Regions from separate parts of the Homo sapiens genome. Here all the other regions are linked to region 2. Evidence: promoter capture Hi-C in 16 types of primary human blood cells and fetal thymus (Javierre and others, 2016). All regions are on one chromosome and are shown on one strand. Each heading gives the region's core, a stretch centred on a gene start or on the middle of the fragment in contact. The rest is flanking DNA. Distances are from core to core; before and after follow the strand shown.

Region 1 (3,274 bases), core at 698-3,197, 610 kb before region 2:
ATGTAATGAGTGGTTGGTTTACTGGTGTAGTGGCTGGCTTACTGGTGTAGTGGCTGGCTTACTGGTGTAGTGGCTGGCTTACTGATGTAATGAGTGGTTGGTTTACTGGTGTAGTAGCTGGCTTACTGATGTAATGAGTGGTTGGTTTACTGGTGTAGTGGCTGGCTTACTGGTGTAGTGGCTGGCTTACTGGTGTAGTGGCTGGCATACTGGTGTAGTGGCTGGCTTACTGATGTAATGAGTGGTTGGTTTACTGGTGTAGCGGCTGGCTTACTGGTGTAGCGGCTGGTTTACTGGTGTAGTGGTTGGCATACTGGTGTAGCGGTTGGCTTACTGGTGTAGCGGCTGGCATACTGGTGTAGCGGCTGGTTTACTGGTATAGCGGCTGGCATACTGGTGTAGCGGCTGGCATACTGGTGTAGCGGCTGGCTTACTGGTATAGCGGCTGGTTTACTGGTGTAGCGGCTGGTTTACTGGTGTAGCGGGTGGCTTACTGTTGTAGCGGCTGGCTTATTGGTGTAGCGGCTGGTTTACTGGTGTAGCGGGTGGCTTACTGTTGTAGCGGCTGGCTTATTGGTGTAGCGGCTGGTTTACTGGTGTGGCCGCTGGTATACTGGTGTAGCAGCTGGTTTGCTGGTGTAGTGGCTGGTATGCTGGTGTAGCGGCTGGCATGCTGGTGTAGCGGCTGGCTTACTGGTGTAGCGGCTGGTTTACTGATGTAATGAGTGGTTGGTTTACCAGTATAGCAGTTGGTTTACTGGTGTAGCAGCTGGTTTACTGGTGTAGCGGCTGGTTTACTGGTATAGCGACTGGTTTACTGGTGTAGCAGGTGGTTTAGTATAGAGGGTGACTTGGTACAACGAGGGACCACGGCCTCCCAGGATTGTGTCAGGGACTCCCCTGGTTTACTGGTGTAGCGGCTGGTTTACCGGTGTAGTGGCTGGTTTACTGGTGTAGCAGGTGGTTTAGTGTAGAGGGTGACTTGGTACAATGAGGGACCACGGCCTCCCAGGATTGTGTCAGGGACTCCCCTGGTTTACTGGTGTAGCGGCTGGTTTACCGGTGTAGTGGCTGGTTTACTGGTGTAGCAGGTGGTTTAGTGTAGAGGGTGACTTGGTACAACGAGGGACCACGGCCTCCCAGGATTGTGTCGGGGACTCTCCTGTGGCCTGGGCATGGCCGCAGCTGCTTCAGCACACAGGGTTGTCCCCCAGGATGTGGCCTGACCGTGGGCTCAGGAATGCTGTGGGTGGGAGGGATAAGCAGGGCATTCAGGGGACCTGTGGCCCATGGGAGCCACCCAGCTTCCCCTTTCTTCTGGGAGCCAGTGTTTTGCTGAGATTCAATGGACCCAGAGATCTCAAGCCTGGGGACCCAACGCCCCAACCCACATCCTGCCTCAGGGAGAGAAGTCCACGCGTGGCCCAGGGCACAGGAAACCCCTCCCCGCAGGAAACCGCAGGCTCCAAGAAGGTTGTTCTCACCGACCACGGCGTCCAGAGCTCTTCCAAATGAAAATTGTTTTTCCATTTTGGGGGTTGAGGGAAGTGGATTTAAATGCTGCCAGCAAAAACCAGTTCACAAGGCAGTTTTGGACGCCTCTACCTTCTGCACAGGACGTTTTACAGCAGCGCCTGTGGGCCTGAATGAGTTTGTATTTGAGATTGAAGGCTTCTGTCATACTAAGAATGTGAAGTCCTTACAAGTCACCAGTGTACGGAATCCGCCCACGGGGAGCAAGATCACACTAGAACCCCCAAGCTTGTTATTATCATTATTGCACCTCCACGTGAACCCAGCAGTGGTTCGAAGTTGGAATGTCACAGACTCTGAAGCCCCATCAAAGGCCTCTTCGACCTCAGCAGAGACTCCCTTCTGAGGATGGGCTCCAGCAAACCTGCTCTGAGCCTTCCCTTCCCTTGTGCCCCTGCCTCATCACTGCCATGGCTACCTCTTGGGCCCGCGTGCAGACATGGACAGGCCCACCCTGCCCCATTCTCCCGGCTTTTGCTCCCCCCACCCCAAAGCCTGAAGAGTCCTTTGGAGACATCAGCCCAATTTCCTTCATTCTCATAACTTTCCAGAGGTTTCTGAATCATTTGGGAGGAAACACTGAGTCCTGCCCAAGCTTCGCAAGCTGCAGCCCTGGCTCCCAGGTCCCTGGGCCCTGGCCCAGCACACGAGGGCGTCCTGTCTCCAGAGGCTGCTGCCAGGTGCACGTGTCCTCTGTTGCTGGCGATTCGGGTCCACCACACTATACAGAGTTCCCCCGCAAACATCGGCTGCACATGGCATTGCTCCCAGGCCCTCTGACTTCATGCATCACCTGCGACGTCTGGACTGACTGTCTCTGCCGCAGCCTGTGCGTGAGCTCACAGAGAGTCCGGCACCCTGGGCCACACCCAACGCCTGGCATGGAAGAGACAGCCAAACGTTTGTTGGATGAATAATTTACGAAACACTCTCTGTGGGCCGAAGGTGCCTCTCCCTGGAGTGGAGCTTGGGTAGAAGTGAGGGGCGGGACTTGGTGAGACCAGGGGGTGCAGGTGCTCAGCCGGAGAAGGTGAGGAGGTGACGTGTGTGTTTGCAGAGTGCTTTACACTTAGAAAGCCCATCGTCTCTAAGACAATGTGAGGAGGTGTGCTTTATGCAGCCCTGCGTGTTCCTGGAGGACCTGGGCCTCTTTCAGGACATCACCAGCAAACACGGGCCAGGCTCTCATAGGTGCTGGCACAGCACTGCCCGGGAACATTCGTGGCATCCAGGAGGTGCCATGTGGACTCGGAAATGGGGGTGTCAGGGTGGTAAGTGAGCACGGGCTGAGGTTGATTGAAGGATGCTCCGCGGTGAGGCTTCTCGAGGGAAGCGTTCTCAAACATCCACCAACGGCTGCCCATTCAAATTCCATCATCGCACATCATTTTCCTCCTAAAATTTAATAACACAGAACCGGAAAATTTGATGACCCATTCAGACCCTTAATGGTTTTATAAAACAAAGCTAAAGTCACTTACGAAGCAATAAAAATAAATTCTGGCTGGAGCACACAATAAAAACTTTTCATAAATTGCTTTTTCTTGTTTCTGTCACTGATACGAGCTGTCACCAAACTTAGCATTCCACTCTCATATTTATGCAAAACATTTGTTTTCCTGGCTATAAATCACTGTTGTCTTAGCCCACTTCACCTTCTTTTAATTTTTGCGGTCAGTACTAGCCATCAACACAAATACTAACTTTCCCCCCTAACGATTAGCTAATGAAATGCACATGA
Region 2 (3,287 bases), core at 669-3,168:
TAGGCTTAGCACATACCTAATTACTTATGACTGCAAAGTTAGGAGTCTTGCTCTTAAAATGCTCCATCTTATTGTAATACTTGGCCTCCAACGCTAAAAAAAAAGTTTCTTTCAATACAATTCAGACAGGCTGTTTCAAATAATCAAGGTCCTTATTAGAAAGAAAGCGCCAATCACATCTTGTAGCAAACAGGTGAGCAGAGGCCACTCTTGACTGGAAAACATCAAATTTAGCACCTTAATTAATACTGAGCGCAAAGGAGAGCATTTACTAGAATACGCGCAGTTGCTTTATTTGTTGACGTTATTGCCAATAACTCATCAAGTGGGTCAATCATGAAGTATGATGAATCCACTTCAACGCTTCCGCTATAATTACAATGATTAAAAGCAAGAATTGCTTTGCTCGAATGTCTGGAGAAAAATGCACAATCCCTAACCGTGGGAGGGCATCATTATAAAGCTGAAGGCAGTGACCAGACGGAAAGCCTGTGATTCCACAGCGCCTGCAGTTTTTACTGCGGTTTATTTCCAGGTAATCCCCGCATATTTTCTCGGGTTTGATTACCATGGGCAACAGTGGGATAGCTATTCATATTACAAAGTACTTCAAGAAACGAACACCCACATTTTACATGAAATTTAATTTTCATATTTTGTAGTAAAAGCCCAGAAAGGTGCTACTTGAATGAAGATGCACCTGTCTCTACATAGAAATCTTTTTAACATCACAGTAGCGACGACCACAGTCCTAGTTTAGAATCATTATTATGACGATAGGAATTTGTAGCAGCCCTCAACCCGTGGCCTTCTGAACCGTCTCTCCACTGTCCTATAAGGGAGGGCTAACTGTATTCCTGGTCGCTCCTGGGACTGGGAGCTCCTGGGGAAGGAATCCTAAAGGAGTGGTTGTCAATGCATTTTCATTAACAGCCGCGCTTCTCGGCAGCCTCCTAGGGCTGGGGTGGCCACGTGCTCCCTTAAACTGTTTTCACAACTCGAGGCTGTGCTGTGGGTGGCAACTTGAAGGTTTCCAAGAACTTTTCGTTTTTCTTTGGGCCAACATTTCTGTTTTCTGTCAATCAATAGTTTAGTTATTTAAAAATAAGAAGGTGAAGAGGGAGTTATTTAGGGTGGGAACCAGAATAGACTTCAAAAAAGAAATCCGTATTACCCAGTTGGCGTCCCAGCGGTTCCCCGAATGGCCTAGAGCCCCCAGCACCTGCCGAGGCCGCGCCATGCACCTGGCTGGGCTCAAACTGGCCAACTCAGACCTGGCCTGGGCGCCCGAAGGCTGCAGGGGGGACGCTCCGGTCCGAGCCACCGCCTGGGCCCGAAAGAGCCGCTCCTGGGAAGCAATGCCGGGCCAATCTCAAATCCCAAATTCTGGAAAGCACTACTTCCCACGCAGTAAAGGGAAGCCCGGGCGCCTCAAAACCAAACCTTGGAAGACGCTGGAGGAGCAAAGCCTGCAAGTTTCCAGTAAGACACTGGGCTGGAGGGAGCAGAGCGGCCAGGGGGCGGGTGCCCACTGCGTCCCGGGGCTCCGGCGCCCACCCTCCGGCCAGCCGTCCCCGGAGACAGGGAAGGGGTCGCGGGGAGCGAGGGGGCGTGGAGGGAGGAGGGGCGGGGGGAGAAGGGCGCGAAGGAGAGGGAAGGGGGGCCGGAGGTGAAGGGGCGCTGAGGGGCCGCACTCACCCGCGCAGGTACCAGCAGGCAGCCCTGGCGTCCGCGGGAGGCGGCCGGGGGCGGGGGTCCCTCGGTGCCCATCGCCGCCCCTGCGGCTGGGTCCGCGCTCCGGGCCGGCCGAGCTCAACGCCAGGACCCCGTCCGAGCCTCCCAGGGCCCCGCCAGGCGCCGCGTCCGCGCCCGCGCCCCTCTGCCGGCTCCGGCTCGGGCTCCACCGGGGCGCAGGGCTGGGGAACCGGAGCTCCGCCCGCCGACCCGGAGCACCGCCCACGCAGACCCGCCCCGGGCGAGGGAGGGGCCGGGCGCGCACCCGCGGGGAGGGCGGCGAGCGGGGATCAGCCGAAGTCGGGAGAGGGGCGCTTCCACGGGGCGGGAAACTGGCGCGCGACTCTGGGGGAAGTGCAGGATGGGGGGACAGGGGCGCTCCCGCGGGGGTGGATGGGGGACCATAGCGGGGCTGGCGGGGCAGGGGCCGGCGCACGAGGCTGGAGGAGGGGAGCGCGCGCTTCTACCCGGGCTGGGTCGCCGAGGTCCGCGGCGCATCGTGGCGGCGGTGGGCGGAGGGGGGCGGGGGGCACCTCTTCTCCCTTGTGGCGCAGGTGGGCGCGCTCTGGACCGGCTTGACGACCCCTCCCCGCCGCCCCACCTCCCTGGCCAAAGGTTCTCAGCTTCTAATCAGGGACATTTCTAGTCCACAGCCTCGAAGCCATGGGTTCTCCCCGGCCCTCTGAAGCCGCCACACCTGTGCCAGCCGGCCGCGTCCTCAGACCTTTCCCCGCGGAGTCTTCCCAGCACTTGGAGACGCAGCGCAGGGCCCCGAGGACGGCCTGGCCCGGAGAAAAGATACCGAAGCTCCAACTTTCCCCAACCCCGCTCCCCTCCTCCTTCCACCCTCCCTTCCCGCCCCCAAAGCTCGGGGGTCCTATCCCTCCTCCGGTCCGCGGAGTCTCCCGAACCCTGCGGGGACCCGGCGCTCGGCGGTGCCCTCCTGGGGCGCACGGGGCTGGGGCGGGAGCGAGGAGACCAGGTGGGGAGGGGACCCCAGATCTCAGACGCCAGGGGAGACGGCGTTTCCCGCTGTTCATTCAGGTTTGTGCCAAAAGGAGCCTCACAGATGCAGTATTGGGTTTGGTAGACTCAAATCGTCTTGTTTTAATGTAAATGAAAGTAAGTTTAGGATAAATTCCAGTGCGGCGGGGGCAGGCAAGGCTACCCACATTTTTTAAAAAGAAGCCAGCCCGTATTTTTCTCCCTTTCCAAATCCTCCGCCCCCCAGTCCTTCGACCCAGGCACGAGCGCCCATCGCGGAGGCCACGATGCCCGTTTTATTCCCTCTCCACGGCAAGGAAAAGCAGCGAAATCTGAGGTCTTCAGAGGTTAACCCTATCTAGGAGCAGAATGTGACGCATTGTAAACAAATAAATATTGAAAACTCGATGTTAAACACTTTACTTTTTCTGACTCCGACTTGCTTGACCCCTGAGCAGACCTGGGTTTCGAACACAGACGCCCTTCCCCATTTCTCTATTCTCTGTATTCCTGTTTCACCTTCACGGCAGTCTGCCAGCACTTCTTAGCACTCAGTTTAACCAGAGGAC
Region 3 (3,040 bases), core at 53-2,552, 570 kb before region 2:
CGTCCTGGACGGAGGACAAACCTGGCTGCATCCTAGGGAAGGACCTCGCGGCTTTCCCATGGATTTGCTGGAAATTAATGCAAATGATTCAAACTTTCTTGAATTTATAATGCATACCATAGGTAGGAATATCAATACAAAATACAACTGAAAACAGCAAAAAGGTATAGGGCACCGTTTATCAACGACAAGGAAAACCTGAAAAATTGTATTTCAGAAATTGCAGAACTAAGTGATGGTGGAAAAGTAGAATTGGTAAAAATAATAAAAACAAGAGCGAATGGAGAAAGGACTGGAACTGCACATTTAGCATCTTCCCTGGACAGTAAGAATCAACAGACAGACAAAGTCTTCATGAAATTTAAGTTTAAAATGCTGAGCTAAGAAAGCCGGATCTGAAGAAATCATAACACAAAGGAAAACACCTCCATGGCGAAAGGTCTAATTGGCAAAACTGACATGGACCAAAGAACTGATTTGAGGAATGAATTTTTAGTGTAAAAGTTTGCACAGAAAGAATTCAACTTGGTGAAAACAATTTCAATGCAATAAAACAAGCATAATACCGTGGAGGTATTTTAAATGCAGTGTCAAGAAAGTTGATGGAGGAGTTGGTTTCATGGAGTTAACTCCGAATCGTAGATTTGCAGTGAAAATATATCAACAATTTGTCACATTAATAACAATCACACCAAAACATACAGTGTGAGACCCCAGACAGCAGGGTGGGTAGAAAACGAGGAGAGTAGAGAAGCAAACACCTTTGTCTCACTAGGAGAGGAAACGTGTTTGCTGAGCACCTGCTGTGTGCCACACCGTGCTGGGTTCTCTCCCCTCCCGTGTCTCTCTCTGCTGTCTCTGTCTCTCTTTCTTCCTATCCCTCTCTGTTCTCCTCCCTACTCCTCACCGCACAATAATGCCCTAAGGTGGAAATAAGATCATGTTTTTAAAAGCTGAAGAATAAGACACAGGGAGGCGAGGCTGGGATTGTGTTGAGCCCATTTGCTGGGAGCAGAATAGGGGTCTCAGGGTAGGTGGTGGGAAGACATTTCCTAATGAGTGACTTGACCTTCTGAGCTCACCTAATCACAGGTCTGGGGGTGCTGTGGTTTTGGTCCAGGATGTTTCTGCCCTGGAGCCCCAGGGTCTTCCCTGTTATGGTCTCTGACTCTGTAACTGCCTGTGTTCTCAAGCGTGTGATGGCACATTAACATCCACTTTTTCATATCTTTCAGCTAAGTGGCATTTTGCAAACTAAATTGGTGCTTGGTAGCGTATTTTTAGAACTCCAGAGTCTAAAATCAACTATAGCCAAATATTTCTCTCCCAAGTTCCCTTGGAAAGGTATTCATTTCATCTATGGCTGTCAATCTTAAAGAAAATTGCTATTTTTCTTGTGAGTGTGGGCTACAGACACTAATATTTATTATAATGATAATGTGATAGATGTTTATAGGGATGTTTGCAAATACAAAATTGTTTATGAATAGGAAATTATAGTCGTATCAGTTTTTGTTACAATTATACATTTCATAGTTCTAATTACAGAACCAGCTAATTTGAAGTTATTTGCTTACAGCCTATTCAATTTTTATTGCTTAGTCTATTTCATGGTTAGCTGAGGGTTTTAATTATTAGTTATTAAAGTTTTTAAGGTTTAAAGACCAAATGATTCATAAAACATAGGGAATATTTCCTGCCACCACCCCATCTAAAACTAGAGACACCATTTAAAGGTTAAAGTACTCTCTTTCCAAAACAGATCAGTATAGTGTCTTGTAGAGAGAGTAGGTGATTATTCAATCTTCACTGGTAATGATTATTTGAAACAACAGCCCTGGCATGTGGAATATAATCTTCTCGCGAGGAGAAGCAGGGCAGCTGTGGCACGACCTCCAGCACCAGACAGGTCTTGGGTTCAAGGATCTGCTCTGGGCCTACCAGCTTTGAGCAAGTAACAGGCTCTCGCTCCACCTCCACATGCTACACTGAAAATGGACACAATCATAGCACTTCATTAAGTTTTCTGGGGCTGCAGTCACAGAGGACCACAGACTTGGCTGCTTAAACAGCAGTTTATGACCTAGAGCTCTGGAGGCAGGAGTCCACATCAAGGTGCCTGCAGGCGGCTCCCCCGGCCTCCCTCCCAGTTCCTGTGGCTGCTGGCGATCTTCCCAGGCCCCAGCTTAGAGAAACCCCACCCTGATCTCTGCCTTCCCGTCAAGATGGCCTTCGCCTGCTCAGCATGACTCTGTCCAAACTCTTCTTTCTAGAGGAACACCAGCTATACTGAATTAGGGGCCCCTCTACTCCAGGACAGTCTCATTTTAACTAATTACACCTGCAGAGACCTTAGTTCCAAATAAGGTTACGTTCTGAGGTCCTAAAGGTCAGGATATAAACATATGTTCTGGGCAATGCACAGTTCAAGCCATGGCAAGCACCTGAGTCAGATGATTGATCAGAAAATCAGAGGAGACAGTGGCTAAGGATGACTTAGCATTACATCTGACACATGGCTTTAGCCATTACTATCACCTCTCTACTGGAAGGAATTTCTCACAGTTGTCTGAATTATGGTGTATGTTAGTTTTGTTAGAAGCTATGAAGCTACTCAGAAATACGTCACTGAAATATCATATGCCGGATAGATCATAAGCTCATGCATCAAATGCAGGCATCTGGGTCAACCACAGCAGTTGTCAGAGGCCTTGCAGAATAACTGAAATGGGGAACTGGCTTTACTACCATATCTCAGCCCCAGAGAGACAGGATGCAGAGCAGATGGCAGGTACAGAGTCTTCCCTTACAAGTGATCACAAAAATAAAAACAACAGAAAAGAGTCCATTAACTGTGGATTCTTGACAAGGCCCTTTGGAAACGATAAAGATCATGGGTAACATCTGGTTGCTAAGCTTTCAAGTTTTTAAAAACCAGTTCCTGTAGGAGGTGCAAAGACTGTAAGAAAAAGATTTCCTGTTCAAGGGGCAGATGTTCCTCAGTGTACTGAGAAGTTGCTAGAAAAATGAAGTTTGCTAG

Evidence for each region. The method cuts DNA at HindIII sites, captures the fragments that hold promoters and counts their contacts. A CHiCAGO score of 5 or more calls a contact.
Region 1: a contact is called between a fragment that was not itself captured here and the fragment with the promoter of SNTG2 in region 2, in 1 of 17 cell types (naive B cells). The highest score is 5.2, in naive B cells.
Region 3: a contact is called between a fragment that was not itself captured here and the fragment with the promoter of SNTG2 in region 2, in 1 of 17 cell types (naive CD8 T cells). The highest score is 7.3, in naive CD8 T cells.

What each region holds. Positions count from the first base shown.
Region 1 is chr2:1,562,751-1,566,024 of GRCh38, reverse strand. All of the region lies in intron 4 of LALTOP (lung cancer associated lncRNA targeting TOP2A), which reads left to right. Among named protein-coding and RNA genes, the nearest start is that of LALTOP, 61 kb to the left of the region's middle. The HindIII fragment of the contact is 367 bases long and covers 1,764-2,130 here.
Region 2 is chr2:949,480-952,766 of GRCh38, reverse strand. It overlaps SNTG2 (syntrophin gamma 2), which reads right to left and starts at 1,918. Exons shown (of 17, transcript NM_018968.4): 1 at 1,699-1,918. The coding sequence starts at 1,770. SNTG2-AS1 (SNTG2 antisense RNA 1) reads left to right here and starts at 1,375. Exons shown (of 3, transcript NR_136151.1): 1 at 1,375-1,482; 2 at 2,381-2,856; 3 at 2,966-3,133. RefSeq lists a silencer at 1,880-2,009. The HindIII fragment of the contact is 9,455 bases long and covers 1-3,287 here.
Region 3 is chr2:1,518,213-1,521,252 of GRCh38, reverse strand. All of the region lies in intron 15 of TPO (thyroid peroxidase), which reads right to left. All of the region lies in intron 6 of LALTOP (lung cancer associated lncRNA targeting TOP2A), which reads left to right. Among named protein-coding and RNA genes, the nearest start is that of LALTOP, 110 kb to the left of the region's middle. The HindIII fragment of the contact is 3,232 bases long and covers 1-2,918 here.